Regions from separate parts of the Homo sapiens genome. Here region 2 is linked to region 1. Evidence: promoter capture Hi-C in human tissues and cell types (Jung and others, 2019). All regions are on one chromosome and are shown on one strand. The core of a region is centred on a gene start or on the middle of the fragment in contact, and the rest is flanking DNA. Distances in the headings are between cores, read along the strand shown.

Region 1 (3,957 bases), core at 78-2,577:
GTACCTTCCAGGACCCGCGCCAGGGCCCCGGACACGCGGTGAGCGGACATGTGCCGGCCGCAAGTGCTCAGGCCCACGAAGGCGTCTGTCCACCTGTGGGGGGCGGGACATCAGAGGTGGGACCAGGCCGGGCCATGGCCAAGGGCTAGGTAGGCTAGGGAAGGGACGGCGGGGTGGGAGGGGGTAACTGGGGTGGCGGCAGCGGTCGACGCCAGACTCGCTTCCGGGTTGAGAAACGGACACAGCTAGCCAGGTGAACAGCCAGTGCGGAGGGACAGAGGCAGCTATGGTAGGAGACGGGGCGGGGAGCCTCACCGCAGGCCGTGGCGGGAGAAGGGGCCCACGGCGGCCCGGGCGTCGCGCTCCACGGCGCAGGCGAAGGCACGCGCGGGGGCCTCCAGCCAAGTGCAGCCACCCACACCGCGCTCCAGCGGCAGTCGCGTAAAGCGCACCCCATAGGCCTGCAGCGCCTCGGCGAACACCTGGCACACGCCTGCGGGCGGAGCGGGTCAGGGAGGAGCACGTCCTTTCACCTGGGGGCATCGAACTTCCCCTACTCCCCCAGCCCCGCCTGGGAGTAACGCCCTCCAAACTGGGATCACTAACCACGCACCTGGGAGCACGTGCACGTGCTGGTGCCCGTCCGCGTGCGTGGGGGCCCTGCCCAGCAGCTCCCGGAAGCAGCTTAGTTGGGCCTCGAGCTCCTCCCGCACCTAGAGGGCGAGCGAGAGACACCTTGAGCGACCGGGAGTAGCTGCCGAGGATACCCTCCTCGTGCTTCCGTGTGATGGCTCCAGTGTTTGAATGCGGAAGTCATCCACCGCCAGCTCCTAACGGCCTCACAGTACCCTCCGGGCGGAGCTCTGGGGGTCCTCGCGAGCATCCTCCTGTAGCTGCGGCTCCGCACCTGAGGCAAATCCACGTCTCCGGCCGCCACCGCCTCCCGGAATCCCATCTTGCCAAGGAAGAAGCCTTCCGGGCCGAGCAGCGATGAGGCGCCACGGCGGGCCGGACCCACGGGGCGGCCCTCGGACAGGTTGGCGTGGAGGCCCGTGGGGATGCTGTGCCTGAGGGCGGAGCGCGAGCTGGAGCACTAGCGGCCGCGGAGCCGCGCGCCCCAAGCCGATCGCCGCCCTGCTAGAGGCCCTCCCCTCACCTGCGGGCCAGCTCCGCCGCGCTCTCCGTGGCCGCACCGTTGACCAGCAGGGACACGCTGGTCACAGCCCCGGCCAGAAAGGCCTCCACGATACCCTCATCGCGTCGCGGGCAGTAACCAAAGTCGTCCGCGGTGACCACCAGGCGCATGCGAGGGCGGGACATGGCCGCCTGGGTCCACCGCTCGCGCTCCCAGGGGAGTGGGCCGGACAGCCCAGGCCCCGCCCCCGGACGCTGCCCGGGCCCCGCCCCGACGCACACGCCCAGGTGCGGCTGCACTTCGCCTTTGTTCTCGCCACCTAGCGGTCCGGCGTGCCCCTGCAAGGACCCGGCAACTGCTCCCGCGCTAACCAGACCAGTGATGGATTCATTGCAATGCGGAACTTTCCTTGACTGCAAAAGTGATATTTAATATGTAAAATATCAAAAGGAAGCCGGGCGCAGTGGCTCACGCCTGTAATCCCAACACTTTGGGAGGCCGAGGCGGGTGGATCACGAGGTCAGGAGTTCAAGGCCAGCCTGGCCAACATGGGGAAACCCCGTCTCTATTAAAAATACAAAAATTAGCCGGGAGTGGTGGCACGCGCCTGTAATCCCAGCTACTCGGGAGGCTGAGGCAGGAGCGTGGCTTGAACCCGGGAGGCGGAGGTTGTGGTGAGCCGAGATCGCACCACTGCACTCTAGCCTGGGCGATAGAGCGAGACTCCGTCTCAAAAAAAAAAAAAAAAAAAAAAAAGAATCTCCTACCCTTCCCAGAGATTGCCATTGTAAACTTTCTGGGTTGTGTCCTTCCAGTGTTTTCTCTAAGCAAATAAACACACCCAACTCCCTTTCTCCCCAACCCAACTTTTTTGTGTGTTGTTTTGAGAACATAAAGATGATTATATCAATGTTATCACATTCTAGTAGTTTCTTAGCAGTGCGAATGAAAATTTTCATATTATTAGCTATTTTTATTCTTTTTCAAATTGCCTATTGATCTTTTGCAGATTTTTCTAAGAGCAGGCATTTTCTTGATTTGTTGATTTTTTTTTTTTCTTGAGCTCTAGACACTAAGAAAATGAAAGAAAGCATATACACTAAGGCTTCATTTGAGAAAACATTATCTCCAGTTTCCATCTTGAGCTCTCTGCCAGGCTACAGCTTTTACATTCATAACTTCACTGTTTTCTCTTTGGTCCAGAAAAGCTTTCCTTACCCATGACTGTATAAATAGTCATTATGGTTGGCAGCCACAGTTTCCATTGCAATGTGACAGTCTTGATTTTTCCCATGGAAAGTGTGGTATTTGTGTCCGGGCTATGAAATTGGTAATGTCATTCCTGTTTCACAGATGAGGAAACTGGGGTTCAGAGAGCGAAAGTGTGGTCCTGCCAGGAGTAGTGGAGCTAAGACTGAACCTCACACCTCGGGGCCAGCACCCAGGCCTGCTATGTCCTCTCTGTCCCTGACCTAGTGGGTAGCCAGAGCTGAGAGGACAGAGCAGAGCTTGAGAGGAACAATATTTCGTGAGGCATGTGAGGATTGAAAGCCTCATAGAGTCCTTCAGCCATGCTCTTGGCATAAGGACTGATGTGTTTATAGTGACTGGTGAATTGTCAGACCTCAACCAACCACCGTTCTCCACTGGAAGCTGATCTTGGAAAGGTCAGAGGTCCCGAGGGTCTGCAGGTGGGAAGGAGGAGACTGACATTTATTGAGCACCTACTTGGTGCCAGACACTGAAAGTATTAGAGATTAAGGGTGACTTGCCTCTGTTCTGGCCCCAAAGAAGCACCATCTGATAGAAAAATAAGTAGCAACATGGTATGGTAGAGTCTGGAATGGGGTTTACTGTGAATTGCGTAGGGCGTGGCAGAATTCACAGTAAAAGGTTTTTGGAAGAAGTGACACCATGGTGGGGTATTACTGAGCAAAGGGGAAAAGGAGGGAGGGAGAGGAGGTAAGAATATACAAGGCTCCGCTGGGCGCGGTGGCTCAGGTCTGTAATCCCAGCACTTTGGGAGGCCAAGGCAGGCGGATCACAAGATCAGGGAATCGAGACCATCCTAGCTAACACGGTGAAACCCCATCTCTACTAAAACTACAAAAAAATTAGCCGGGCGTGGTGGCGGGCCCCTGTAATCCCAGCTGCTCGGGAGGCTGAGGCAGGAGAATGGCGTGAACACGGGAGGCGGAGCTTGCAGTCAGCCGAGATTGCGCCACTGCACTCCAGCCTGGGCGACTGAGCGAGACTCCCGTCTCCAAATAAATAAATTAATTAATTAAAGAATACACAAGGCTCCACTGGGTTACTGGGTGTGCTGTAGGGAGATTTTATTGAATCCCATACTCCCATATTGGAAGAACACTCAAGCCCATTTACAGTGTGGGACTAATGCTGAGAGGTTGAGTCACATTGGCAGGAAAGAGCAGAGCCAGGAACTGAAGCTAGGTCTGTGACTTAGAGCCGGCACTCTTTCCACTGCAGAGGGGAGAGGTCTCAAGGCAGAACCTGGGGCTGTGCACACCGCGGGAAGGGCAGAGGCCCCTGGAAACGAACAGGAGCAGGAGGCCCAGGGCTGCGCAGCAACCAAGGAGGACACGAGGAAGGTGCTTGTGCCACCGGTGGAAGACGTGGCTTTGGCTTTTAGGCTCCCCTCGGGGCAGGAGCAGATCAAAGAGCCTAGCCCCAGCTTCGGTGGTGGGTGGGGGGTCCTCCCGGCAGCGGGGAGCGTGGGCACCAGCATCCTCAGCCTGCGGCTCCCAGGCGAGTGTGGGAGGGCAGAGCCCAGAGAATTGGAGGTGGGGCCAATGTGGGCC
Region 2 (4,578 bases), core at 2,050-4,549, 660 kb before region 1:
GTGGGTGGGGCAGCAAGATCACCACGTGTATGAAATGGGGGCAGGCTGGTTGGAGACTGAGGGCACCAGCCCCAAGCACTGCCATCTGCCCTGTGATGGGACTCTCCTGTGGCAGTGGCAACGGTCCCACTGTGGAAGCAACACATGAGCTGAGAGGACTTGCCTGAACTGAGCCACATGTGCCCTCTGGGCCTGGTCACCCCACCACCTGCCCCCAGTGTGACCCATGCAGGGCCTGTTCCTGACCCTGAACGAGACCAGGACTCCCTGGGCTGCATTTCCTATCTGTAAAATTGTAGGAGGGTGGTGGTGGTGGGGGCTCGAACTTGCCCCCTGGGTGGGGTGGGGCATAAATAGTCCCAGAGGATGGCCTGGGAAGGCTGGCTGGGCCTGGCACAGGGGACTTTACTGCTGTCATTATTGTCCTCCTTACAGGAGAGGAGAGCAAGGCCCAGACCGGGGAGGAACCCACACAGCCTCTGTGCTCCAGCCTGCTTGAAAGACAAGGTCTACCTACAACGCAGAGATGCACACATTAAGGACAATGAAACACCCAAGTGTTAGGAACCAGAATAATCAGCCCTAATAGAGGGGAGGCTGATCAGGGAGGGCCTCCTGGAGGAGGAGGCACAACATCAGGGTGCACTGTGATTTCTGGAGACCCAAGGAGTTCTGGTAAATGACAGGTGAGAAAAAGAAAATGTAATAAAATATAATTGAAAACAGACCCTGGTATGTGTGGAGAGAGGGCCGGGAGGAACCTAGGACACCGGGGAACCTGAACTCCCCCAACCAGTGAAGGGAGCTGTGGGCAGCAAGGTTTGATTGGGGTTTTCTTTCTTGTGGAGGTTTCTCAGAGTGATTCAAGTTCCCCCACCCCGCCCACAGATGGTTCTGAGACTTTGGAAAGAAAGAAAAGGAAAAAAGACCCTGCCCGCGCCCCAGCTGGGCATCCCTGGGAGGTCGCGAGGATCCCCGGAGACCCAGACTCGGGCCCGGGGCGCCCCCGGCCAGAGCGGCCCCTGGCTGCCTCCCTACGCCCCGCGACTCCGGTCCGGACGCCGAGGGCCTCGGCCTGCCCCTGTCCCCCGGCCGCCCCCCACCTGCTCCGGCCCGGCGGGGCGGTGCTGGGCCCGCGGGCTCCCCGGCCGCAGTGCAAACGCAGCGCCAGACACGCCCCGCCCGCGCCTCCCCGCCCCCCCGCGCCCGCGGCCCCAAGCGGTTCCCGAGCCCAGGCCCGCGCCGAGCCCAGGTGAGCGCCCGCCCCGGGGACCCTGGTCCCCGGAACCCCGGTCCCCGCCCGCCGCCCCGCCTCTTCGCCCCGGCGCCGGGGGCCAGCGCTTGCGCTCCCAAGTCTCGGACCCCGGCCCGGCACGTTAGGGGCTGGGGGTTGGCAAGCGGGGCCAGAGGCACTGGCCGGGGTCCGAAGCTCACCTCGTCCTTCTCTCGTCCCACAACGGCCCCTTCCCGGCTCGCCGCGGGGCCCCACTGTGTGCCAGTCCCCCTTCTCGGGCTGCAAGGTCTGGCGGGGGCAACGGGACGGAGCCGGCGAGGCTGCTGGCATCGGCTTCCCAGAGAGAGGGAACTGCACGTGCAGAGGCGGGGAGAGTGGACAGAGGCTTGCCCTGAGCTCCGTGGGGGAGGGGAGAGCGCGGAGCCCCCACACTCGAAGGCAGGACTGGGATCAGATGCCACCCCTAGGACGCCTGGAAGCCACTGGGAGTCCGATCTGGGCAGGAGCCCTTGGGATGAGGCAGTGGGGGCAGGTGGCGAGAGGTGGAGGAGTGGGGAGAGGACCCTGCCCAGCCTGCACCCTGGGGGCGCCAGGAGCCCTGGGAGGGTCAGGTGGAGCAGGGGCCGCTCTGTGAGATGGGAGTAATCCAGTCCCGCCTCACAGGTCCTGGGGTCCCTGGGACAGACACAGACTCCTGCTGGGTGGTTAGCACTGGGCTCTGCTAGAACTTTTCTGCAGTGGGCAGCTCATGGGCAAGGAATAGCACTCGGGCGCTCTGCACTCTGGGGGTCCCTCCTGCCCTGCCCCTGGCAAGGACCTTTGCCTTTGAGTGGGGTGACTGGGCTCCAAGCCGATCTAGCACACAGTAGGCCGAAGGCACAGGGGCCCCACCCAGTCTCCTTCCTGGCCCAGGCCCTGGGGGATTCAGGTCCCTGGGTACTCGGGAAGGGACAGCACAGCCTGGGCAGGTCCCCAGTGGCAAGACCAGGTCTGACCTTTTCTGGGATCTGTGGCCCATCAGGTGAGGCCTGAGGTCAGCCAGGAAGGAAGCGGGCAGGGCTGAACCAGGGCTGAAACCAGGACCCAGGAAGGGACAGCCTAGTGCCCAGGGAAGGGGCAGGTGGGGCAGGTGGCAGTTGAGTTTTACAGACCTTCTTTGATGACAAGTGGGGGAAAGAGCCAAGGCACGCCCCAGTGGCTGTGGGAGCCACCGCCTCCTCCCCTGTAATGGGCACCTCGAGGACCGACAGGCGCAGGGGCCAGGCACCAAGGGTCCCTCTCCAACCTGGCCTTTTGTTTCCACCCCTTGCTCTCAGGCACCCACCCACGGCCCTTCCTGGTATCTGGACCAGACCAGGTGGGTCTCAGCCCCACCTCAAGTGAGACTTCAGGAAGAACTTCCAGAGGAAACTGGAGGATGGCAGTGGGATGGACTGTGGGGAGGTCATTTGCAAACAAGGCAGCTTATGCCTGTGCCCTGGGCCTTCCAAAGTCCACCTGTAGGCTGCATCTTCCGGAAGGCCCACCCTGTAGCCTGGAAGGCACCTGGCTACAGTGATCTCTCTGCTGTGCAGGTGTCCCCTCCCCCAGGGCACCTTGCAGGGCCTTAGGGTGATATGGGGGCTTTCTGGGCCCCTGCCCACCTTAAAACTGATCAAGGTGGGAGGGTGGGGTGGGAGGCCACAGGGATGCCCCTGCTGCTTGACCTTGATGGGACCTTGACCCCTTGCTTTCCCCATATGCTGTTGGGCATGACTGCCCACAGGCCTGGTGGGCGTTTGTGAAGGGCTGGAGTCGGGGGTAGGGGGAGCTTATGGCTGCTGGGCACAGGCGTGGCAGGGCTGTGTGCCTGGCTTCCCTTTCCCCTAACCCCATCAGGCCCGGGCTGGCCGCCCACTTCTGTTCACCACAGAGCAGGGTTTCCCTGGGGACCAGTGGACTGGCCCAGCCCCACACCGCCCCCCAGCCCCTCCTGGCCACAGCTTGAGCTGGGAGGAGGGTGGAGGCTGGGCCGCCTCCTGGACCCCTGCCCTCCCTGCCCGGCCTTCCAAGGCCCGGCAGCCTCAGTCCACTGCTGGGCCTGGAACACGGAGCAGTGGCTGCCCTGCGAGGAGGTGGGTGTCCGGAGTGCTAGCCAGGGTGGGGCTGGGCTAGGGGGAGCCTGATGTCACCCCCATTGTAGGAGGGAGAAGACCAAGGATGAGAAGGGCTTTGGCTTCCCCAAGGTGACCCCCTCTTTGAGCCTAGGCATAGTGGTCTCCCGGGAGAATGGAGGGTCCCAGAGCTCTCAGGCTGTGGGATTTGGAGAGGGGAAGGGGGGCACGAGGAGGCAGTAGAAATCAGGGAGGATTTCCTGGGCAAGGCAGCCGCGGGGCTGGACGATGGGCGGCCGAGGTTCGGGCAGAGGAACTCCACTGGAGGAGTGAGGGAGCTGAGCTTGGAGGGCTTCAAAGGGGAGGTGACCTCCAGGGCCCCACGCTCTGGGATCAGGCTCACGCCATGGTTCCCAGCTCAAATGTAAGACTCTTTCCGAAGCTCCCACTGTCTCTCTCCGTCCCTCTGTGTCTCTACCTGCCCACACGCCCCGGTCCTGATGGCTCCAGTCTCCCCTGCAGGTCCTAGAGCAGCTCCAGCAGGATGGCGGCTCCAGCGTCTCTAAGGCCTGCAGGGGGTCCAGCCCCATGGGGGGCGCCCTAGGCCTCCGACAGCTCCCCATCTGTGCTCCTGCCTGCCGGCCATCCTCAGGCCACTCGCCATGGGCGGCTGCTTCTCCAAACCCAAACCAGGTACCTCCTGTCTTCTTGTCTCCATCCTTTCTCCTCCCTCCCCGCCTCCTCCTCCCCCGTCTCCCCCCCCTCCCCCTCTGCACTCGGTAGGCCTCCGAAGTAGGTCAGGCTATCCAAGAACCCGCTCGGAATGTTAATACGCTGCCGCCAGGAGGGGGTAGGGGGCCTGGAGCAGTTCCCCCAGCTGGCCCCTGCTCCAGTGGGTGCCCCTTTTTCTTTGGGGCTTTGAGTGTTGGTGGTGGGAATAACAGCAGGACCCTTCTTGGAAAAGGAAAGTCAGGGTTCCTCCTGTTGCAGGGTTGGGGAAGGGGCTATGCCCCCAGGGCCAGGGAAGGGGGGAGCTGGGGACACGCTCAGCCACTCTGTGACCTAGGGCATGCAAGTTACCCCTCTGAGCCTCTGTTTTTCTCTCTGCAAAAGAGAGGGCCTGGCCACCCTGACCTCTTAGAGTTGCTGTGAGGGTGTAGTGGGCAGATCCTGGCTCTCTTTGCCTCCTCTGATCCCCTGTGTGGTCTCGGGCTGCCTTCTTGGCCTTTCTGGGCACACTTCCCCATTTAT

Evidence for each region. Contacts are between HindIII fragments. The study calls those that stand out against the background at their distance.
Region 2: a contact is called between the fragment with the promoter of AIFM3 here and the fragment with the promoter of YDJC in region 1, in 2 of the 25 tissues and cell types used here (lymphoblastoid cells and mesenchymal stem cells).

Annotation. Positions count from the first base shown.
Region 1 is chr22:21,628,695-21,632,651 of GRCh38, forward strand. It overlaps YDJC (YdjC chitooligosaccharide deacetylase homolog), which reads right to left and starts at 1,328. Exons shown (of 5, transcript NM_001017964.2): 1 at 1,157-1,328; 2 at 908-1,067; 3 at 614-713; 4 at 316-493; 5 at 1-93. The coding sequence starts at 1,320. RefSeq lists silencers at 275-364, 1,275-1,554 and an enhancer at 3,798-3,957. The HindIII fragment of the contact is 8,887 bases long and covers 1-3,715 here.
Region 2 is chr22:20,963,956-20,968,533 of GRCh38, forward strand. It overlaps AIFM3 (AIF family member 3), which reads left to right and starts at 3,300. Exons shown (of 21, transcript NM_001386814.1): 1 at 3,300-3,348; 2 at 3,850-4,020. The coding sequence starts at 3,990. It overlaps LINC01637 (long intergenic non-protein coding RNA 1637), which reads left to right. Exons shown (of 2, transcript NR_110537.1): 2 at 436-725. The HindIII fragment of the contact is 23,315 bases long and covers 1-4,578 here.